Linked DNA regions of Homo sapiens: region 1 is linked to region 2. Evidence: promoter capture Hi-C in 16 types of primary human blood cells and fetal thymus (Javierre and others, 2016). All regions are on one chromosome and are shown on one strand. The core of a region is centred on a gene start or on the middle of the fragment in contact, and the rest is flanking DNA. Distances in the headings are between cores, read along the strand shown.

Region 1 (4,175 bases), core at 1,627-4,126, 3.7 Mb after region 2:
TTCCAAGCAGAGATGTGGAGACCAGGCAGAGCTTAGAAACACCGGCTATATTAAACTTGCAGGGTCGGGTAACCTAACTCTCAGTTCTATAATAATGGTGCTATTTCGAATGCTGTGCGTATTTTCCTTCTTGGAATGAGAGGACGTTCAACTTTTTTCTTCAAATAATGGTAGCCCAATTTTAGATCTTTTTGATTTCTTTGTACATGTATAGTAGCTGATAACCACAGGTCTCTTAGCAAAGTGGCTAAGCAATTGTGAAAATCTAAAAAGTACGTAGAACACGTGTCAGTGAGTTTACACATATTTATAAGACTGAAGTATGGGTTCAGGTTGATGTAATAATGGGTCAGAATTCATACAGATACTATAGGGCTTGTTCATTACACGATAAATGTACAAATTAATACTTAGTGACGCTGTGGAATATATGTGTGCACTTGTGCATATGCATGTGTATGTATTTATAAACTTATATGTTTATTTTATTTTTTGAGATGGAGTCTCGCTCTTGTTGCCCAGGCAGGAGTGCAATGCAGTGGCCTGATCTTGGCCCACTGCAACCTCTGCCTCCTGGGTTTAAGTGATTCTCCTGCCTCAGACTCTCGAGTAGCTGTAGCCGGGATTACAGGTGCCCGCCACCATGCCCAGCTAATTTTTGTATTTTTAGTAGAGATGGGGTTTAACCGTGTTGGTCAGGCTGGTCTTGAACTCCTGACCTCATGTGATCTACCCGCCTTGGCCTCCCAAAGTGCTGGGATTACAGGCATGAGTCACTGCATCCGGCCTTGTATGTATGTTTAAAATTTGTTGTGCTTTTCTGTAACACCAGGTTAAAGCTTCTAATTTACAGCCTTTCTTTTCTGATGAGATAAAGCAATTGAATAACCTTTCTCAATTTTCTGCTTGTGATATCAACAAGCAGAAGAATATTAGAATATTGAACTAATTGTAGATGTTTAAGGTTCTTGAAGTAAGGAAAACAAAATCCTTGTGATATGTTTGGATGTGGGGAAGGAGGGAAAGCATTTATTACCCTTTCTAGTTTGAAAATGCGAGCTACCTGGACATGGGAATGAATGTGACACGTAGACCCTACCATACCTTCACTAGGATATTTGCCAAATTTACCTTTATGGCTTCAGAAATCCAAATTGCTCTCTCATCTCTAAACAGCTGTTTGATGGTTTAATTATACACATTTTTCTAAAAGTGCTTTTAGTTTCAGAAACATTAAGGAATAAGAGAGATGAGGTGTGCTAGGACAGCAGTCCCCAACCTTTTTGGTACCAGGGACTTGTTTTGTGGAGAACAATTTTTCCACAGACGGAGCAGGGATGGTTTTGGGATAAAATTATTCCAGCTCAGATCATCAGGCATTAGTTAGATTCTCATAAGGAGCGAGCAACCTAGATCCCTCCTATGTGCATTTCACAATAGGGTTTGTGCTCCTATGAGAATCTGGTATGTCGCTGATCAGACAGGAGGCGGAGCTCAGATGGTAATACTTGCCTCCTGCAGGGAGGAGGGATCTGTGTGCTAGGGCTGGAGAGCCCTGTGCTAGGACACCTTAGTTTTTGGAATAGTCAAGAACTAAAAGCTCTATGATGAAGTGATCAATACTTTTTTTGTTGTTGTTGGGAGAACTGATGATGGAGTAGCCTCATCTTTTGACTAGGATGGGGCGGGAACTTGGGGAGAGGAGGCAAGGATCAGACCAGACTTAAGAGAGAAATTGGAGTGCGATATTAGTTTGCCAGGGCTGCCATGACAAAATACCAGAGACTGGTGGGTGGCTTAAACAACTCATTTCTTTTCTTTGTTTTGCTTTTTTTTTTCTTTTTTCTTTTTTTGAGTTGGAGTTTCACTCTCGTTGCCCAGGCTGGAGTGCAATGGCGTGATCTCGGCTCACCGCAACCTCTGCCACCCGGGTTCAAGCAATTCTTCTGCCTCAGCCTCCTGAGTAGCTGGGATCACAGGCATGCGCCTAGCTGATTTTCTGTTTTTAATAGAGATGGGGTTTCTCCATGTTGGCCAGGTTGGTCTCGAACTCCCAACCTCAGGTGATCCACCCGCCTCGGCTTCCCAAAGTGCTGGGATTACAGGCGTGAGCCACAGTGCCCGTCCCCAGTGCCTGGCTAATTTTGTATTTTTAGTAGAGATGCGGTTTCTCCATGTTGGTCAGGCTGATCTCGAGCTCCCGACCTCAGGTGATCTGCCCACCTCGACCTCCCAAAGTGCTGGGATTACAGGCATGAGCCACCCATGCCCAGCCAAACGCATTTATTTTTTTACAGCTCTGGAAGCTAAAAGTCAGAGATCAGCAGGGTTGATTTTCTCCTGAGGCTTCTCTCCTTGGCTTGTAGATGGTGGTCTTCTCCTTATGTCTTCACATAGTCTCTCCTTTGTGTGTTCTAATCTCTTTATAAGGACATCAGTCGCTGGATTATGGCTCCTCACCCTATGACTTTATTTAACCTTAATTACCTCTTTAAAAATCTTTATCTGCAGGCCGGGCATGGCGGCCCATGCCTGTAATCCCAGCCCTTTGGAAGGCAGAGGCAGGCAGATCACCTGAGATCAGGAGTTCGAGACCAGCCTGGCCAACATGGCGAATCCCCGTCTGTGCTAAAAAAAAAAAAAGAATACCAAAAATTTGCCGGGCATGATGGCACATGCTTGTAATCCCAGCTGCTCAGGAGGTTGAGGCAGGAGAACTGCTTGAACCCAGTAGGTGGAGGTTGCAGTGAGCCGACATTGCACCATAGCACTCCAGCCTGGGTGACAAGAGTGAAACTCCGTTTCAAAAAAAAAAAAAAAACCTTATCTCCAAATACCGTACAGTCACACTGGGGGTTAGGATTTCAACATATGAATTTGGATGGCACACGATTCACTCTATAACAAGCACCATGTCTTTAGCACTGGCTGAAAGCTAGGGAGTAGCTGTATGCCCATAAAACAGTTGTTTTTACCCTTCTAGCGGTCACAAGCCCTTTTGAGAGTCTGGTAAATGCTGTGAACCTTTCTTTTTTTTTAAAAAAGAAAAATTCACCCACATAACTTATCTGCTCCCTGCTCGCCGCCCCCCCACCCAATTTCTGAGATTTCATGGACTCCTCTTCCTTGAATACAAACATGGAGTTCAGATCAAGAGGCTCTGCTCTTTGGGCTGGGTCTCCTGTTTTCTTATTTCATTCAGTTCAACAAACTGAATATTGAGTGTCTACCAGGAACTGGGAACACAGTTCCTGTCCCTAGGAATTTATGTAGTTTTCTCTAGAGCTCTGACAGACTCCTTCACCTAGTGAATTCTGATGTCCAAAGTTCAGATTCCTAGGCAGGTTTCCCTTCTGTCTACATTGGTTGTCTCTGCTTTCTCACCTCTCATTCATTCCAAGGTGTTTTCTACCCCCACTATTCAGTGATGCTGCTGTTGTCAAAGTCAGTAACAGATGGCCTCCATATTACCCAGCCTGTGGTGGTCGCTTCTTAGTCCTAACTGAGCTTAAATTGTCATATTCATTCCTTACAGTTAAGTGATGTCTGCTAGAAACATTTAACGTTTCTTTTATTTACTTTTTTTGAGATGGAGTTTTGCTCTTGTTGCCCAGGCTGGAGTACAGTGGTGCAATCTTGGTTCACTGCAACTTCTACTCCTGGGTCTAAGTGATTCTCCTGCCTCAGCCTCCTGAGTAGCTGAGATTACAGGTGTCAGCCACCATGCCCAGCTAATTTTTTGTATTTTTAGTAGTGACGGGGTTTCACCATGTTGGCCAGGCTTGTCTTGAACTCCTGACCTCAGGTGATCCACTTGCCCCGGGCTCCCAGGGTGCTGGGACTACAGGCATGAGCCACCATGCCGGGTCCATTCAACATTTCTTTGGCTTTTATATACTGTATTTCCATGATGTTCTTCCTACCACAGTGGCTATTATTTTTTCTTAGCTTCTTCTCATTCCCTAGAATTTTCTTTTTTTGACCACAACCTACAATAGAAAATAGATTATTCCTAATATGTTCATAAGTGTACAGATTACATGTGTTAGTCCATTAATACATCTATTTACTTATCATCGATCTCTGAAATAAAATGTTTATGGACTAGTACTTGCCTACTTGCCCTTACTGTATGAGAAGATTCTATTTTTTTCTATTATGTTTCTATAATATAC
Region 2 (4,287 bases), core at 1,568-4,067:
CAATGTGAATTCTGAATACATCTGAGCCTCCTGGAACTTATAAGCAATGCACACCTGAGGCAAGTCACAAGTGGTGCCGGTGGTTTCCATACAGATTGGAGAATGTGAAAGCATTACACCTTGAGAAAGATTGCTGACATTCATGGTATCCGATTCTGACATGCTTTCTACTTTTTCATGAGAAGTATCCACTTCAAAATGTACAGGATCTGAAGGTGATGACCAAAATTTTTGATAGTCCTTGTTCATAACTGTTGAACAATAGAAGACTTCTTTAAAAAAAAAATGTGTCTATTAGTAGGTATAAACAAAAAGTTTTTTCCCTATCCCTCTTCTCATTAAGAAAGTAGCAAAGTTCACTGCCCTTATTTGAAATGTCATTTGTCAAGTTATTAGAAAAATTAAAAATTTTAGTCTGAGTATACCGTAATTTGGTATGGTAGTAAATACTGATTTGGAGAAAAACAAACAGTATTGGCTACTATCCAATAACTCCCTAGAAGGCTTTGGACCTAGAAGTGAAGGGATCTCTGTGTTATTTAATCAAGGATATTTACAAAATATTATCAGAGACCTAATAGTTTCCACAAAATCCTGGATTTTTATTTACTTGATACCTTCCACTTGAACACCTCACTACCAAGTCAAACCCAGCATTGTAACTGTTTTCCCTCCTCACTTTCCTATACTGCGCCTATTCCCTCAGGTACATGTGTTTGAAAACTGGACTTGTCTTGGCATCCCTCTACCTCATCATGCATGGCTATTCAGATACCAAGTCCCGTCCATGTCTCCTTTAAAAATGTCTTTCAGGGCCGAGCGCGGTGGCTCACGCCTGTAATCCCAGCACTTTGGGAGGCCGACGCGGGCGGATCACGAGGTCAGGAGATCGAGATCATCCTGGCTAACACGGTGAAACCCCATCTCTACTAAAAATACAAAAAAAAAAAAAAAAAAAAATTAGCTGGGCGCGGTGGCGTGTGCCTGTAGTCCCAGCTACTCTGGAGGCTGAGGGAGGAGAATGGCGTGAACCCCGGAGGCAGAGCTTGCAGTGAGCCGAGATGGCCCACTGCACTCCAGCCTGGGTGACAGAGCAAGACTCCATCTCAAAAAAAAAAAAAAAAAAAAAAAGTCTTTCAGTAACCTGTGCTTTCTTTCCATCCCATGTTGCCACACTGGTCCATATTCTCCTGACTTCCTCAGGCCTGTCCAGAGCTCCAGAGCTGAGAGTGGAAAGGATGGCCACTCACATTGATTCTATAAATTTTTGTCCTTCCAGGCCATCCATAGCCTGGAGTGACATCCCCTACCCGGTACTCCCCTGCTCTACTCAGATCAGGCTCATTTCCCTGCAGACAGATAATGTTCCTTACGAATTAAGCTTCAGTCATCTGCCCTGGCACGTGCTTCTCTCCTAAAACCTTCCCATCTACCCATTCATCTATTTTCAAAATTCCTACAATGTCTTCAGTCTCTAAATCTCTATCTTACAATTCAGCACTTGGTGATTTCGTTTACTGTTTTAGAGCTTCACCACTGTTTCAAGGGTGTTAGTGTTTGTGTTTACAGATCATAAATGTCTTGAGAGGAGCATACTTAGGGCTTTCCAATATCCCCTACTGCAAATGGACCAGTGCTGTCTACACAGCAAATATTGATTGAATAAAACCTGCATTCCAATGACTTATTTCTATCAAGCTCTTTCAATTTATAGTCATTACTCATCTGCCTGGATTCTTTTATTGAATTTCTGAATGAATAGTTTATTGAAAATTAGTTGTTTTCAAACCTATGTCATCACTTGGTAAAATATAAAAAAGTAAGCCAAGCAGACCAGTCAGGATCAGTGAAAGGCCCAACTTTATGCTCACTTCTCCCTTGTCTTTCAAATAATGCTGCCTGGATTGTGGTGAGATCTGAAAAATTCTTGCTTTGTTTTCCCAATGCAAAAAAGCGCAAAGGCCTTGTTTCTTAGTTTTCTTGTTTGTGAACCCAGCACTTCCAATTACATTTCTACAACTTTGTTCATCCCTCATGTGGCACTGCACAATCTGCCAGTTTACCTTTTTAATTTAAAGTTAGACTATTTTTTCCATCTTTCATTTGTCCTTACAGGTTTATGTTGGATTTTTAACATATTTATCAAATGTTTGAATAGATGTTCCAGAGACATTCTAAAGCTGTTTTAAGATAGGAGTTAAAAGAGGTGTCACGGGAGTTACTCGCAAAAACTATAGTTTTGTTTAAAAGCTTTTTCAGTTGTAAGACAAACTTTACCTTTTTAAAAAGCACTTATCTCATTCATTTTTCACCTCAAAACGAGACACCAAACTTTTTAAGACACAAAAGTGTGCTCACTTCCAGGATCCATAGTTTCTTGGACCCACGCTACGGACCTGGCTCTCCCTCCCTCTGCACCGGGTTTTGTGGGAGGGAGAACGCTTTCCAACCTCCTCCACCAAGGACTCTCACAAACTCGCAATCGGGCTCCCGGAGTGCTGGAACGCCCCTGTGTGACGTCCGCCCGCGCCGGGGGAACTCCGCAGAGACAGGTGCAGCCCGCGAGGCCCGAGCGACCCTACTGTGGGTGCGGTGTCTTCCCAGAGAGTGGTGAAGTTAGGAAGGTACGACCCCCTAGGCCGAACAGCCTGTGGGCTAGCTGGCGCCTCCTGCCGCAGTAAACACAAAGTGGGGTACAGAAACGAAAACTCCGGGAAGAAACGGCCAGCACGGGCCTCGCCGTGCCGGCTACTCAACACGCCTTCCTGAGAGCACAGAACATCCACAGCCCTATACAGCGCGCCATCCAGAGAGCTCCGGACTCCCAGCTCGGCGCAGGGGCGGGACTTCCGCTCAAGTCAGACTTCCGGGCGAGGCGGTGAGGGGCTTCCGGTTGGGGTGGCAGGGTGGTGGATCTGTCGGTCCCGTTTTCCCGTCGCACGTGGTGGCCACTGTTGGCTTCTGAATGGTTTGCAAGGCGGATATCCACGCCAAGGCCTTTGGATCGGCCGTGGGTACATCCGTCTGAGCCGTTCCTTTCCATCGCAGAGCGGCGGCCTCCGGCGGCGCTCTCCAGTCATGGACTACCGGCGGCTTCTCATGAGCCGGGTGGTCCCCGGGCAATTCGACGACGCGGACTCCTCTGACAGGTAGGCGGCCGTACAGTGCCCTGGCTCTGGGTACGGCTCTCTCCTTGACCGCCCCCTTGGGGTGTGGACTCTTGTTTGCGGTTTAGAGGGAGACTAGTGGTTCATCACTCAGCGTCTCTCTTGACAACCCTTTGCCTGTTTCTGCATCCCAGCTGGGTTTTTCTCCCAGTTCACGCGGCAGAGTTAAGTGAAAGCTACTTGTCAAGGGAGTCTGCGGTTCTCAGGTCGGTTAGCGTCACTGGGAGGCAGAGTTGGGGATAGCGATTAGGAAACATGGGTTTTTGCGTTTTAACCACATTTAGCGTTCAACAAATACTTACTAAGCACTTAATATGTACCACGTTCTGTCCTGGGCGCCGGAGGTAACAAGAAGAACCAACTTCCTGCTGTCATGGAACTTTACCTTCTACGTGAAAGAGAGGGCACACCATTTAAAAACCAAATAATGATGTAGACTATGCAAATCGTTTGATATACCAAGTGGTGACTGAATGGGTAGGGAAAGGTTAAGTCCAGATTTGAATGACAAGGAGCTAATCCTGGCAAGAGCAGAGGGAACAGCATTTCACACAGAAGGGACAGCAAGAGCAAAGGCCCCGAGGCCAGAGTGCCTAGAGCACAGTGGAGGTAGTTGAGAAGATTGGTAGGGTGATAGAGAAGTAAGAAGGGGGGCCAGATCATGGAGACCTTTACAAGTGATGGTGAAAAGTTCAGATATTAATGTGGGTCTTATGGAAAGCCATAGGAGGGATTTTAGCAGAAGAATGACATTATTTGCTTGGTGATTTAAAGGAATCATTCTTTCTAGGTAGATGATGTTCATGGAGGGTGGGAGTGGAACAGAGAGACCAGTTCAAAAATAATAAGGTAATCAGATTCAAAGATGGTGGGGACTAGAGCCCAGATCCTAAAGATATGTCTTGGAGGTAGAAGTGGCAGCGTTTGGTGGTAGACTGGACGTGGAGTCTGGGGAAAGAGGGATGAAGGATAACTCCTGCCTAAAAGCAAAATGAAACATATTGGAGTTATTTTGGAATTCCAAGAAAACAGCTTGTACTTTATGTTTACAGTAAGGATTCATCACATGCGGATTTTGTTAATTATTGGGGATGTTTTCAATAAATATATGTATGTTGAA

The links. Contacts are between HindIII fragments. The CHiCAGO score rates a contact against its expected background, and 5 or more counts as called.
Region 1: a fragment that was not itself captured here is called in contact with the fragment with the promoter of CAGE1 in region 2 in 1 of 17 cell types (total CD8 T cells); the score reaches 5.7 in total CD8 T cells.

Annotation. Positions count from the first base shown.
Region 1 is chr6:11,094,864-11,099,038 of GRCh38, forward strand. All of the region lies in intron 1 of SMIM13 (small integral membrane protein 13), which reads left to right. Among named protein-coding and RNA genes, the nearest start is that of SMIM13, 3.1 kb to the left of the region's middle. RefSeq lists a silencer at 1,518-1,597. The HindIII fragment of the contact is 4,078 bases long and covers 838-4,175 here.
Region 2 is chr6:7,386,925-7,391,211 of GRCh38, forward strand. It overlaps CAGE1 (cancer antigen 1), which reads right to left and starts at 2,818. Exons shown (of 14, transcript NM_001170692.2): 1 at 2,278-2,818; 2 at 55-272. The coding sequence starts at 249. RIOK1 (RIO kinase 1) reads left to right here and starts at 2,884. Exons shown (of 17, transcript NM_031480.3): 1 at 2,884-3,149. The coding sequence starts at 3,079. RefSeq lists enhancers at 2,497-2,556, 2,567-2,616, 2,747-3,166, 2,770-3,556. The HindIII fragment of the contact is 2,322 bases long and covers 2,249-4,287 here.